Linked DNA regions of Homo sapiens: region 1 is linked to region 2. The links are contacts of gene promoters, found by promoter capture Hi-C in blood cells and fetal thymus (Javierre and others, 2016). All regions are on one chromosome and are shown on one strand. Each heading gives the region's core, a stretch centred on a gene start or on the middle of the fragment in contact. The rest is flanking DNA. Distances are from core to core; before and after follow the strand shown.

Region 1 (6,037 bases), core at 1,943-4,442, about 20 Mb after region 2:
AGTAATTCTGCCATGAACTAATATAGCATTAATTTGCCCAGGATTTGTAAAAATTTCCTGGATTTAAACCATTTCTTTTTAAAATCTCTTGCAAGGGAGTTGCCTCTCCTTGAATTGAGTTCAGCAGCCGTCAGTTTGATACCGTTGGGGGAAAAAAAATCTATATACAGTACTAGGTGCATACTTTGCCCAACTAAGCGTTCAATGCGGGGCACATTTTGATAGGTGCAAGGACAAAGCTTTAGAAATTTTCAGTTTGTAGGTTTTTATGACAGTAGGAAGACTGTGGTAGGGGAACCCTATTATTAGCTTAACAAGGTTTCAGCAAAGCTATTCAATATAACCTTTTTCCAGGGCCACAGGTTTTAATGATTCTATGTGAACGTGTGGCCAAAGGATAACGAGCTTTGACCCAGGTTTAACATGTGATAATCAGAGACTCCTCTTGATCCACGCTAAAGGATAGTGCCTGCCAGGGGTGAAAGTGCATCATGCTACTAAGACCCATTTGTGTTATTTTTGTGAAACTGGATATGCTGATCAAATCAACACCGGAAACAGAAAACTGCTTTCCTTACTCTTAACGCCAAAAGTAAGTTTATGGACTTTAGAATTTAGCATTTTATGAAGAAATTGTCTCAGGAACACATTTTGATCCTAAGTTTTGTCAGATGTATACAGGCCTTAGTTCTCAGAGAACCCTCGATTGTTAACTTTTTAACTCCAGCTGACAAAATGTGTTTGTGTTCTAAACAGTATACATGTTTCTTCTAGTGTTTTAAGAATCATACGCCATTCATCACCTGAGGTCAAGGGTTCCAGACCTGCCTGGCCAACATGGTGAAATCCCGTCTGTACGAAAAATACAAAAATTAGCCGGGCATGGTGGCACCCACCTGTAATCCCAGCTACTAGAAAGGCTGAGGCAGGAGAATCACTTGAACCCGGAGGCGGAGGTTGCAGTGAGTCGAGATCGCATCACTTCACTCCAGCCTGGGTGAAAGAGCAAAACTCCGTCTCAAAAAAAGAAAAAAAGAAAAAGAAAAAAAAGAATCATACTCCATTCCAATTGTGATGTCCCCCTTTAAAGTTTCAGTTTGGGTGTTAGGGTAGGCAGAGAAGGCCTGGAAGCAAAGAAGTTGTGGAAATGGGGCTGGCAGGGCTTCGTTTCAAGTCAAGTCGAGTTCCTGAGCGGTGTGGCTGAGTACCGTTTTGAGAAGGGATATATAAAAAGATTTCAAGGTGGTAAAACTTGGTTTTGAGGGAACTTGATTTTTACAGGAGTATAGCGACTGTCCAAAATCATATTAAATAAATCTAAAGGTTAGGTAAGACTAAAGCCATAAGAGAATTTTTTTGAGTAGGTCCACCTTCACTAAAGAGCATTTTTTAGTTCTGCAGCTGGCAATCTGGACAGAAAAAAATGGGGTAAGTTTTCATAACCCAAGTGCTCAGTTGTGTCTATTCATTACATATAAAAAAGAAATGCATGACCATTAACAGATGCTGTTTGCAGTCAAGAAGACAGCAGTAAAACATAAGCAGGATAAAAATCTCAGCGTCTTGAAAGGAAACCATTTAGCAACGAAATAAACTTAAAAATTAATTGTATCAATGAACTCTTGATTTCTAAAATCTTTGCTTTTTCTGCACTATGATTACTGCTACTGACAGGAACGCAAGTTACTCAATATAGTTGATTGCAAGTAATTTAGATGTTCTCCAACAGCACAAAGAAAGAAAATGACTTCATCTTTTGGACAAGAGACAGTTCTGGAATCCTAGTTTAAATATAGATGGCAGACCTACGGTGCGATCTGAGAATGATTCTTATTTAGAAGGGGCTTCAGAAGATCTCAGAACTCCTGGAAAGACATCTTAGCATTCCATTCTGGAAATTCTTTAGTTTTGTTGGGAGAAAAAATCACTTACAAATAGAGCCAAGATTTTAATTAAAACAAGGTAGTAAATAAATGTCAAAATAAGTGGGATGAGAATAACGTTTCATTTTCAGAAGAGTCCATAGGGAACAATTCAGAGATAAATTTAATCACAAAAGGTCTGAGAATGGGAATATTCGGTTCCACCCTGGTTTTCACATCTGTTCATTTTCACTACTGGTTGCGTTTCCTACGGAGACTCGGGTGGAACATAAAAGTGGGGCTACTTTGGACAAACCATTAAAAACCTTACCCTTTTTTCTCGCTACACACAACTAGACCACATTGCTCTTAGCTAAAGGGACACCTTAAATCTATTCGTTCAGCAAAACTTATAACACCGTGTTCCTTTTCTACTCAGAGGGAATCGCACAAATTAATTCTTGCAGATACTCAGCTCTCCTGTTTTTTAAGCTTCCACGTGGGCCTTAGCCAAATAACTTCTGGTAGGCAAATTCTCCCCTTCTTCAGTTGAGAGCTCAGAGCAAGCTGTTGGATTAAGCAAAAGCACCTTTTAAAAAATTAATATTCAAGGCAGCTGTACCGCGGAGGGCCTGGGTCTCGGAGTCTAAAAAATCAGACTGGACGTTACTATTTTTTTTTAGGCAAACGACAGCTCGTTTCTCATTTGTAAAACCGGGGGAACATCTTACCGAATAAACCTTACACAAACAGAAAGGATTCCTAAGGGCTGGGAAAATACTATTTTGCTGTCCCCAGGATGGAATATCAGCATCCTTGTCTTTTAGCTCTTAATAAAGCTCTAACTAGTCACAGGAGGAGCCAGGCTGCATGATCACGCACACTCTGGACGTCTAGGTTTTCCGACCTAATAAGGGGGCAGGTCGCGTCGTTCCCTGCTTAAATTAGAGACCACCTCCACCTGCCAAGGGCCCTTCAAACCCTCCGCCCCTAGGTCGCTAACGATCACCGCTTTAGTTCTAGCTCCAGGCGCCGCCTGGCGGCTGTCTCCGGAAGTCGCCTGCGAGCCTCGGGGTCCTGACCGCTGCTGGGCCTGCCCGTAGATTTGCCTGACTCTAGCGAACCTGGCTCCGCCCCTCCCCCACTATACGTTGAGGATTTTAAGACGGCGATGAAAGGGCTGAGGTTGTGGCGACGGGGGCGTCCAGCGGCATCTCCACTCCCCCAAGGATGGCGGAATCAGGCCGTTGTCGGGCAGCTCTCGACCCGGAAGTCGCTCGCGGCGCGAGGCCCCCGTTGCCGAGCGCGGGCGCGGGGGGCGGAGCTCGGCGGAGACGGGGAAGGGGTCGCCGTGGCTGCCGGTCCTCGAGTTGGGGGCTGCCGCGGACACTGCTAGGCAGACGGCGAGTACCGAGCGCGGGTGGCCGCGGTGTCCGTGGGCCACGCTCAGCTGCGGTCAGAGGCGACATGAGTGCCGCGGGGCTGCTGGCCCCGGCCCCGGCCCAGGCTGGAGCGCCGCCGGCCCCCGAGTACTACCCCGAGGAGGATGAAGAGCTGGAGAGCGCCGAGGACGACGAGCGCAGCTGTCGGGGCCGCGAGTCGGACGAAGGTGAGTCCTGCCGCTCGCCCGGCCGCCCGGAGCGGAGGTGGGACCGCTGGGGGAGGGGGTGGGGCTGTTCGGGAGAGGGGCGGGGCGGCCTCCGGGGCCTGGGGCTGCGTGGAGGGGCCGCCGGGAGTTGCGGGGCTCGGGGAAGTTACCCCCATCCGTGCTGGAGTAGCGGGGAAGCCCTGGGTGCGTTACACTCGACCGTGATGGGGAGAGGGGACTTAGATGTTGTCACGCTGGGGGTCCCTTTAAGACCCCGTCCTCCCTCCCAGCCGTTTCTGATTGAACCTCACTCACTAGTAGGAATTAGAAACTCATTTACTGAATACATCGAGTGTAGTTCGCCCCTTTTTTGTGTGTGAGAGCATCAGAGTCCAAAGTTGCCCCTCCCCACCCCCGAAATGCATAAGTCATCTATACTTTAGGTAGTACACTATTGAGAACTCAGGTTGGTTAAAGGAAAGGGACCTAGAACCAGCCAGATACAGGTTTAAATTTGGCTTTGTCACTTAACTCAGCTTTGTAAACTTAAGTTTTCCAGCCTCGATTTACCCAACTGTAATGGAGCTGTTTAATTCCCACACCTGCCCTAGAAGGCACTTCCTAGGGTCGGTATAGGGATTAAATGACATGCGCATAAAGTACTTGGCCTGGTACTGTAAATACTCCGTAAATGTTCTCCCCACCCGCCCCCCTCCCGGAAACAGGTAAGAGAGGGAGAGATTTGCTTAATGGTCCCCAGGTGTTGTGTTTTCAGTCCCACGCTCTTTGCACTGTCATCACAGAGTCTCAGAGCCTTGCTTTTCAAACTGGGCTTTATAATTTGGCAAGTGTGAGGAACGCTATTTTGGAGGGATGGAGGAGGAGGAAGGTGATGAAATGTGAGAGATCAAGGGAGGAGAAATAGGAAACAAAGAGAGACCGATATATGAGCGGAATATTCTGGGACAAAATCGGGCCGTGGAGCAAAAGCTAGACCAGCTGTTTGGAATGGGGCCTACGTTTTATTCATCTGAGTTTCCCGAGTGCCAAGTAATGTGGCTGACCATGACAGGAACTCAGGGAAGGCCTCTTGACTGAAGGAGGGGAGAAGGGTTTGTGGGGAATTGGATCTGCAACAGCCTTACAAAAGACAGCTGCATATGCATGACATACAAAGTTGAGGGACTGCATTCGATTTAATTCCATCAGAAGACACGGCTTAACCAGAGATTTTGAATGTGAAGCACTTGCACTTCATCTCATACCCACGAGGGGGCGCTGTGGAGCCAAAATTGAGTTTTTTTTTCCTTCCAGTATAGGGGCTATTAAAATTTTGTACACACCCCAGCCATTAGCTTGTTCTAAGAACAATGTTTAAGATGTTCTGAAACAGTTTTCGTTTGATCATCTGGCCTCCTCCTTGTTCCCTTTAGTTGTAACTTGGAAAATATTTATTTGTGTCAGATTCCCCTTTTTTATTGTATACAGTTGGCTCTGCGTATCTGTGGGTTCTGCATCTGTGAATTCAACCAAGCGCAGCTCAAAAATATTCAGGAAAAAAATTGGATCTGTACTGAACATGTGCAGACTTTTTTTTTGTTATTCCTAAACAGTGTAGCGTAACAACTACTTACATAGTATTTACATTTTATTGGATATTGTAAGTAATCTTTTTTTTTTTTTTTTTAAGATGGGGTCTCACTCACTCACCCAGGCTGGTGTGCAGTGTCACGATCTCAGCTCACTGCAACTTCCATCTCCTGGGTTCAAGCAGTTCTCCTGCCTCAGTCTCCGGAGTAGTTGGGATTACTGGCACCTGCCACCATGCCTGGCTAATTTTTGTGGTTTTATTTGTTGTTTTGTTTATTTTATTTTTTTTTGAGATGGAGTTTCACTCTTGTTGCCCAGGGTGGAGTGCAATGGCGCGATCTCGGCTCACCACAACCTCTGCCTCCCGAGTTCAAGCAATTCTCCTGCCTCAGCCTCCTGAGTAGCTGGGATTACAGGCATGTGCCGCCACCCCCAGCTAATTTTGTATTTTTAGTAGAGACGTGGTTTCTCCATGCTGGTCAGGCTGGTCTCGAACTCCCGACCTCAGGTGATCCACCTGCCTTTGCCTCCCAAAGTGCTGGGATTACAGGCGTGAGCCACTGCACCTGGCCCTAATTTTTGTGTTTTTAGTAGAGATGGGGTTTCACCACGTTGGCCAGGCTGGTCTGGAACTCCTGTCCTCAGGTGATTCTCCTGCTTTGGCCTTCCAAAGTGCTGGGATTACAGACATGAGCTGCCATGCCTGGCCTGGATATTCTAAGTAATCTAGAGATGATTTAAAGTGTACTGTTGGCCTGGTGCAGTGGCTCATGCCTGTAATCCCAGCACTTTGGAATGCGAAAGCAGGTGGTTCACTTGAGGCCAGGAGTTCGAGACCAGCCTGGCCAACGTGGCGAAACCTCATCTCTACTAAAAATACAAAAAGTAGCCGGGTGTGGTGGTGCACCCCTGTAATCCCAGCTATTTGGGAAGCTGAGGCAGGAGAATCGCTTGAACCCAGGAGGTGGAGGTTGCAGTGAGCCGAGATTGTGCCACT
Region 2 (5,913 bases), core at 1,019-3,518:
GTAAAAGAGTGATGAAAAGGACTGATCAGGGAATTTAAGTCAGGTGAGTTGCAAAATTATTACATGATGGCAGAAGCAGAAGAGTTGAGTTTTTTTAAGTGTTGGGGTTAATAGCGTGGAGGTCTTAATTAGGTAAGTGAGAGTACCATAAATTAGCTGGGAAAAAAAGGCTAGTGATTGACAATTGGGAAGCTTGAAACTGAGATTTCAACTGATGACAAGGTTCAGAATCTGACTGATACCGAAGTGGTTAAGACGCAAGAGAGGAACAAATTGTTGGAGATGAAGAGGTCAGAGGTCTAAGAGGCCAAGTGTTGGTGTTGCATGGGTCACCTACAAGCATGCTGAATTCAGATAGAATGTAGACAAGAGGGATGGTGAGGAAAACCTACGGCAAGCAGCTCTATAATTTCTGGAAAGTGACCAGGAGGCTCGTGGATGATGGCAGGAAGGAGAGTAGAAAGTGATTTAGCCAGAAGATATGAACTTCAAATATTTTTGAAGCAGAAAAGAGCAGAAATGGTTTGGAAGTAGCAATCAGGACCAAAGAGACCACCCAAACTCAATAGCCCAACCTCTTAGCCTTAGGGTACGCAGAATCTGAAAAGTGTAATCTCAATTTTGGAGCTCTACAGCAGTAAATCTGCAAGTAACCACCTGTAGCTAATGTCCAGGGATTAAAAAAAAGATAATGAAAATGTTTTTGCCCAGGAAACATTAATTTCAGGCGTATCTAGAATGCAGTTCTTGCATTATACGTACTGGGTTACCAGTCATTGCAAAGTCATGGTCCTTTGCCTCTCAGCTCAGTTCCCCTTCTGAAGATAAAAACATTTGCCTATGTGTCCAGGGAAGCTGTGAGGACAAAAAACCAAGCAACTTTTACAAGGGATCATAAAAACCTACCTAACAACTTGCTAATTAAAACCTGATTTTTAATTTGCATTATTGAGCTTAATACCATTGCTTAAATGTATGTGAATACTGAGATTTTTATAAAGGAATTAGTTACCTCTAGGAAAATAATTATCACTAAAAGAAATAATATCGCAATTTGAATAAAAGTAAGTCGCTTAAATCATAGGAAACATTTTTAGTGAAGGCGTTTGTTTTAAATGTATTCTAACCTAGCAATGTAGAAAGCAGGCAAACATTTAAAAAAAATTTAACCAGTTTCTAAAACATAGTTTGGAGCTCAGATTCTGGGGAAATGATTAACACACCCTACATCCAAGGTCTCCTTTCCTTTCTAGAAAGAAAGCATCTTTAAACATACATATTCATCAGAAATACAAATATTTGTCATCAGTGATACTAATTTCCAGGCAAACATTTTAATTGCAGTCAATGTATTAGATTCTACCAGGTTTTAATTTGGATCGGTAATACGGGTTTGATTAGGGTTCTAGGCCTAATTATAGGTCACTAGTCTTCCTTTAGGATTATGCACCATCTGTTATTTTAAATTGACCATTGAGGGGGTTCCCAAGGGTTCTCCTTCGTTTTGTTATCAAACGTTAGGTTTAGGATTCTTGCGGGTGGTGGGATCCAAAGCCAGAGACGGTTTCAACAAAAATGCAAGCGCGAATTTGTCTTGCGTCTGAACGCACTGTTCAAATTAAACAATTTAGACATGCCCCAACTATGACACTAAGAAGTGAATGGTATAGTACACTTTTGTCACAAATTCAAGGGTAATTTAAGTGCCCGATTGTAGAGGTCTGGCTTCCCCTGGGTTTCTGGAACAAAAGAAGCGTTCGCGAGGAGAGGGGTAACTCCCCGCCCTCCCCCTCCCAAAGTAAATCAAATCAAGGAATATGAGTGCCTGCAGACAAGCCTCGCTTCTTTTCTTCCCCTTCAGGGCTAGCGTTTGGGGAAGGCAAGGCTGCGGCTACTCTTGGAGCTTCAGTGTCCCGGGAGGAAGAAAGGCCCAGCCAAGGGTCCTCACACTGGCGTGGAATTCGGCGCGTTCGTAGGCGATCGACCCCAGAGACGAAAGCTGCTTCTCAAGCTGGGGGAGGGAGAGGAAACGGCGCACAAAAGCAGTACGACCTGTCCCTTATCGGCGTCTAAGGGGAAGGGTGGAGAAAACGAAAACAGAAGCGGGCCGGGAGCCTCGGCTCCCGCCCCAGCGCCTTTTAAACTGCGTTTCTACCTCCTCTCGCTCAGCGCGGCGGCTAATGGAACCCGCGCGAGCCGTCTCGCCAATCACCGCCGCGCTTCCTCCCGTCGCCCGCCAATGGCGGCGCGCGTTCTTGGGGCGTGGGCGAAGCAGGCTGCTCGCCTCCTGCCTGTAGTGTGTGGGCTGGGGTTGGTGCGAGCTTCCAGCTTGGCCGCAGTTGGTTCGTAGTTCGGCTCTGGGGTCTTTTGTGTCCGGGTCTGGCTTGGCTTTGTGTCCGCGAGTTTTTGTTCCGCTCCGCAGCGCTCTTCCCGGGCAGGAGCCGTGAGGCTCGGAGGCGGCAGCGCGGTCCCCGGCCAGGAGCAAGCGCGCCGGCGTGAGCGGCGGCGGCAAAGGCTGTGGGGAGGGGGCTTCGCAGATCCCCGAGATGCCGGAGTTCCTGGAAGACCCCTCGGTCCTGACAAAAGACAAGTTGAAGAGTGAGTTGGTCGCCAACAATGTGACGCTGCCGGCCGGGGAGCAGCGCAAAGACGTGTACGTCCAGCTCTACCTGCAGCACCTCACGGCTCGCAACCGGCCGCCGCTCCCCGCCGGCACCAACAGCAAGGGGCCCCCGGACTTCTCCAGTGACGAAGAGCGCGAGCCCACCCCGGTCCTCGGCTCTGGGGCCGCCGCCGCGGGCCGGAGCCGAGCAGCCGTCGGCAGGGTAAGGACGCGGGGCCGGGGCTACAAAGGCGGGCGTTTGGCGGTTGCCGCGCGCGCTCGCCGCCGTTTGCAGCCCCTCCCTCCCGGGCGCCCCCTCGGGCCTCCCAGGTGCGGGGCTGTCCCTGCGCCCCCTCGCGTCGCCCCTTCCCCGCGGGGCTGCAGGCGCCGGAGCGGAGAGGCCAGAAGTTGGGGCCGCGGGGTTCGCGTTCTTTGACGTGTGGGTCTGGGAGGTGTGGAGTTGCGTTGGCGGCGGTTGTTTTGCACGCAGTCGACGCCGCTTCCCTGGACCACCAGCCGCCTGCAGCGGGCGTTTAGACGGGGACTTCCGTGCCCTTTCGAAAGCTCTGGAGGGGTGGCCCCAAAATGCTATAGGTTAAGTTCGAGCGTTTTCCCGCTTTATTAACTGAAATGACTCGCAGCAGAGTCTCAGAGCGCTCCCTGGAGGGCAACTGATGACACTCTAATTTCTAACCAAAATTTGAAATGAGGAAATTCCCGCCTTTTTATACTTTTGCGTGTGGAGGGCTTTTTGAACCGTTTATGTTTTCTAGTTTGTTTTAATTTTTCCCAGCAACAGGCCATCTTTTGGCGGAACAGGTTCATGCCGAATTAAAAGGAGCATTTTAAACTATATTTTTAGGCGCCTATTATAATTTTTTAGTTTTTATTTATTTATTTTTTTAGATGGAGTGTCGCACTTGTTGCCCAGGCTGGAGTGCAATGGCGAGATCTCGGCTCACCGCAACCTCCACCTCCCGGGTTCAAGCGATTCTCCTGCCTCAGCCTCCCGAGTAGCTGGGATTACAGGCATGCGCCGCCACGCCCGGCTGATTTGTGTATTTTTTAGTAGAGACGGGGTTTCTCCAAGTTGGTCAGGCTGGTCTCGAACTCCTGACCTCAGGTGGTCCTCCCGCCTCGGCCTCACAAAGTGCTGGGATAACAGGCGTGAGCCACCGGGCCCGGCCCTGCAAACAAATATTTGAAAATTGCAGTTTGGATTGCGTTTTCCCCACATATTGGTAAATTTTGCTTGAGGAAACGAAAGACTTAGGATTCAGGAAAAATTTATTTCATGACATTCTGGTGCATCAGTATTGCAATTTGGAATGTCTGATCCTGGTTAAATCTCAAATCGGCTCCAGCAAAGCATGTTTTGTTTCAGAATAGTTTGCTTTTTTACCTGTGGATTTTAATATGCTTTTTGTGGGTTTGCTTATGCCTGCCGAGTTACCAGGCTTCAAATCGTAATAGGATGAAGCTAAAACTAGTAATTGGTGTAACATAAAATGCCTTGTAAGAGACAGTGAATGTGGTGTTTGGAGTTGTTGGGAATGATCACTAGTTTAAACCGAAATTATTCCTTCCTTCAAATTTTACTTTAGTTTTTAAGGAACCTGTCTAATGTGTTTTCCCGGCTACTCAGGCAGAAATGAAAGACAAATGTAATAGACACATGTAAATTTAATTGAAAATCTTATTCTCGGCTTCAGAGAAGTTGAAAGTTTTACCAAACGTCTTCAGTCCGGTGTCTGGCACATAGTAGTGCCAAATATTTGTACAATAAATAAAAGACCAATCACACCTTATTGTTTAAACATCTTGTTTTGCGGAAAGCTTCTTTAATTTCTTAATAAACAAATTTACTTTTGAAATAAAAGCGTACCCGCTTACCCGTTATGTTTCCCTGCTCTGAAAAAGAAGGTAGTATTTAAACTCTTTAAGTAGAGTTGGTTGAGGCCGGGCGCGGTGGCTCACGCCTGTAAGCCCCGCACTTTGGGAGGCCCAGGCGGGTGGATCACCTGAGGTCAGGAGTTCTAGACCAGCCTGGCCCATATGGTGAAACCCCGTTTCTACTAAAGAAAAAAAATACAAAAATTAGCCGTGCCTGGTGGCGGCGGCCGAGGCAGGAGAATCGCTTGAACCCGGGAGGCGGAGGTTGCAGTGAGCCGAGATCGCGCCATCGCACTCCAGCCTGGGGGACAAGAGCGAGACTTCGTCTCAAAAAAAAAAAAAAAAAAAAGTTGTTTGAAAATAATATTTAAATCAGCACACTTTATAAAAAACCTAATTTTCTATAGAACCCTTCATTGGTCCTCTGTGCAAAAGTATTAAACCGTGAAGTTTTTGGTTGTATGTTTATAATAGAATTACTGGTTATTATTTTTAGGCGGGATCTCGCTTTGTTGCCCAGGCCGGAGTGCAGGGATGTGATCATAGCTTACTGCAGCCTCAAACTCTTTGGCTCACGAGAGCCTCCTGCCTCAGCTTCCCTGAGTAGCAAGGGCAACGGGGCATGCACCGCTACACCCGGCTAATTTTCTAATCTTTTTTTTTTTTTTTTTTTTTTTTGGTACACAGGCTTTCTGTGTTGTCCAGGCTGGTCTAGAACTCTTGGCCTCAAGCAATCCTGCCTCAGCCTTGGTTCCTATTTATTTTGAGGATGATTTCTTTTACACAGAAACAACCATCTCAGTTTTAATGTTTTCCTATCAGCCACTTGGTAAAAGAGAGTTTATGTCCCCATCTACCTTGTGTTCTTTTGGGGGGTAAGAAGACCTAAATGTAAAAATTTTTTAATTAAGATTATCCAGCAATTTTGAGTTCCTACCAAGTGTTCTTAACTACTGGGTTTAAAACTTTGGGGATTTAAAAATGAATTGTGTTTATTTACTTGTCTGTCCAACTCATATGTTAATTGAAGTTGGTTAGCATCATGTAAATAAGTTTTGAGTAAAATGAAGGGTTTTTTTTTTTTGAGACGAGTCTTGCTCTGTCGCCCAGTCTGGGGTGCGGTGGCGCGATCTTGGCTCACTGCAAGCTCTGCCTCGTGGGTTCATGCCATTTTCCTGCCTCCGCCTCCCGAGTAGCTGGGACTACAGGCGCCCGCCACCACCCCCCAGCTAATTTTTTGTATTTTTAGTAGAGATGGGGTTTCACCGTGTTAGCCAGGATGGCCTCGATCTCCTGACCTCGTGATCCTCCCGTCTCGGCTTCTCAAAGTGCTGGGATTACAGGCGTGAGCCACCGCGCCCAGCCAAAATGAAGTAATTTTTGTTGTTGTTATTTTGTTTTGTTTGTTTTGTTCTGAG

The links. The method cuts DNA at HindIII sites, captures the fragments that hold promoters and counts their contacts. A CHiCAGO score of 5 or more calls a contact.
Region 1: a contact is called between the fragment with the promoter of SUDS3 here and the fragment with the promoter of TMPO in region 2, in 1 of 17 cell types (naive CD8 T cells). The highest score is 7.0, in naive CD8 T cells.

The regions. Positions count from the first base shown.
Region 1 is chr12:118,373,363-118,379,399 of GRCh38, forward strand. SUDS3 (SIN3A corepressor complex component SDS3) reads left to right here and starts at 3,193. Exons shown (of 12, transcript NM_022491.3): 1 at 3,193-3,471. The coding sequence starts at 3,330. It overlaps LOC124903031 (a long non-coding RNA gene), which reads right to left and starts at 2,765. Exons shown (of 2, transcript XR_007063480.1): 1 at 2,594-2,765; 2 at 1,936-2,429. RefSeq lists enhancers at 1-38, 3,248-3,748 and silencers at 3,190-3,409, 3,440-3,589. The HindIII fragment of the contact is 4,103 bases long and covers 2,353-6,037 here.
Region 2 is chr12:98,513,322-98,519,234 of GRCh38, forward strand. TMPO (thymopoietin) reads left to right here and starts at 2,269. Exons shown (of 9, transcript NM_001032283.3): 1 at 2,269-2,825. The coding sequence starts at 2,547. It overlaps TMPO-AS1 (TMPO antisense RNA 1), which reads right to left and starts at 2,905. Exons shown (of 2, transcript NR_027157.1): 1 at 2,670-2,905; 2 at 1-2,576. RefSeq lists enhancers at 1,889-1,968, 2,229-2,418 and silencers at 2,759-3,028, 5,082-5,141. The HindIII fragment of the contact is 4,246 bases long and covers 191-4,436 here.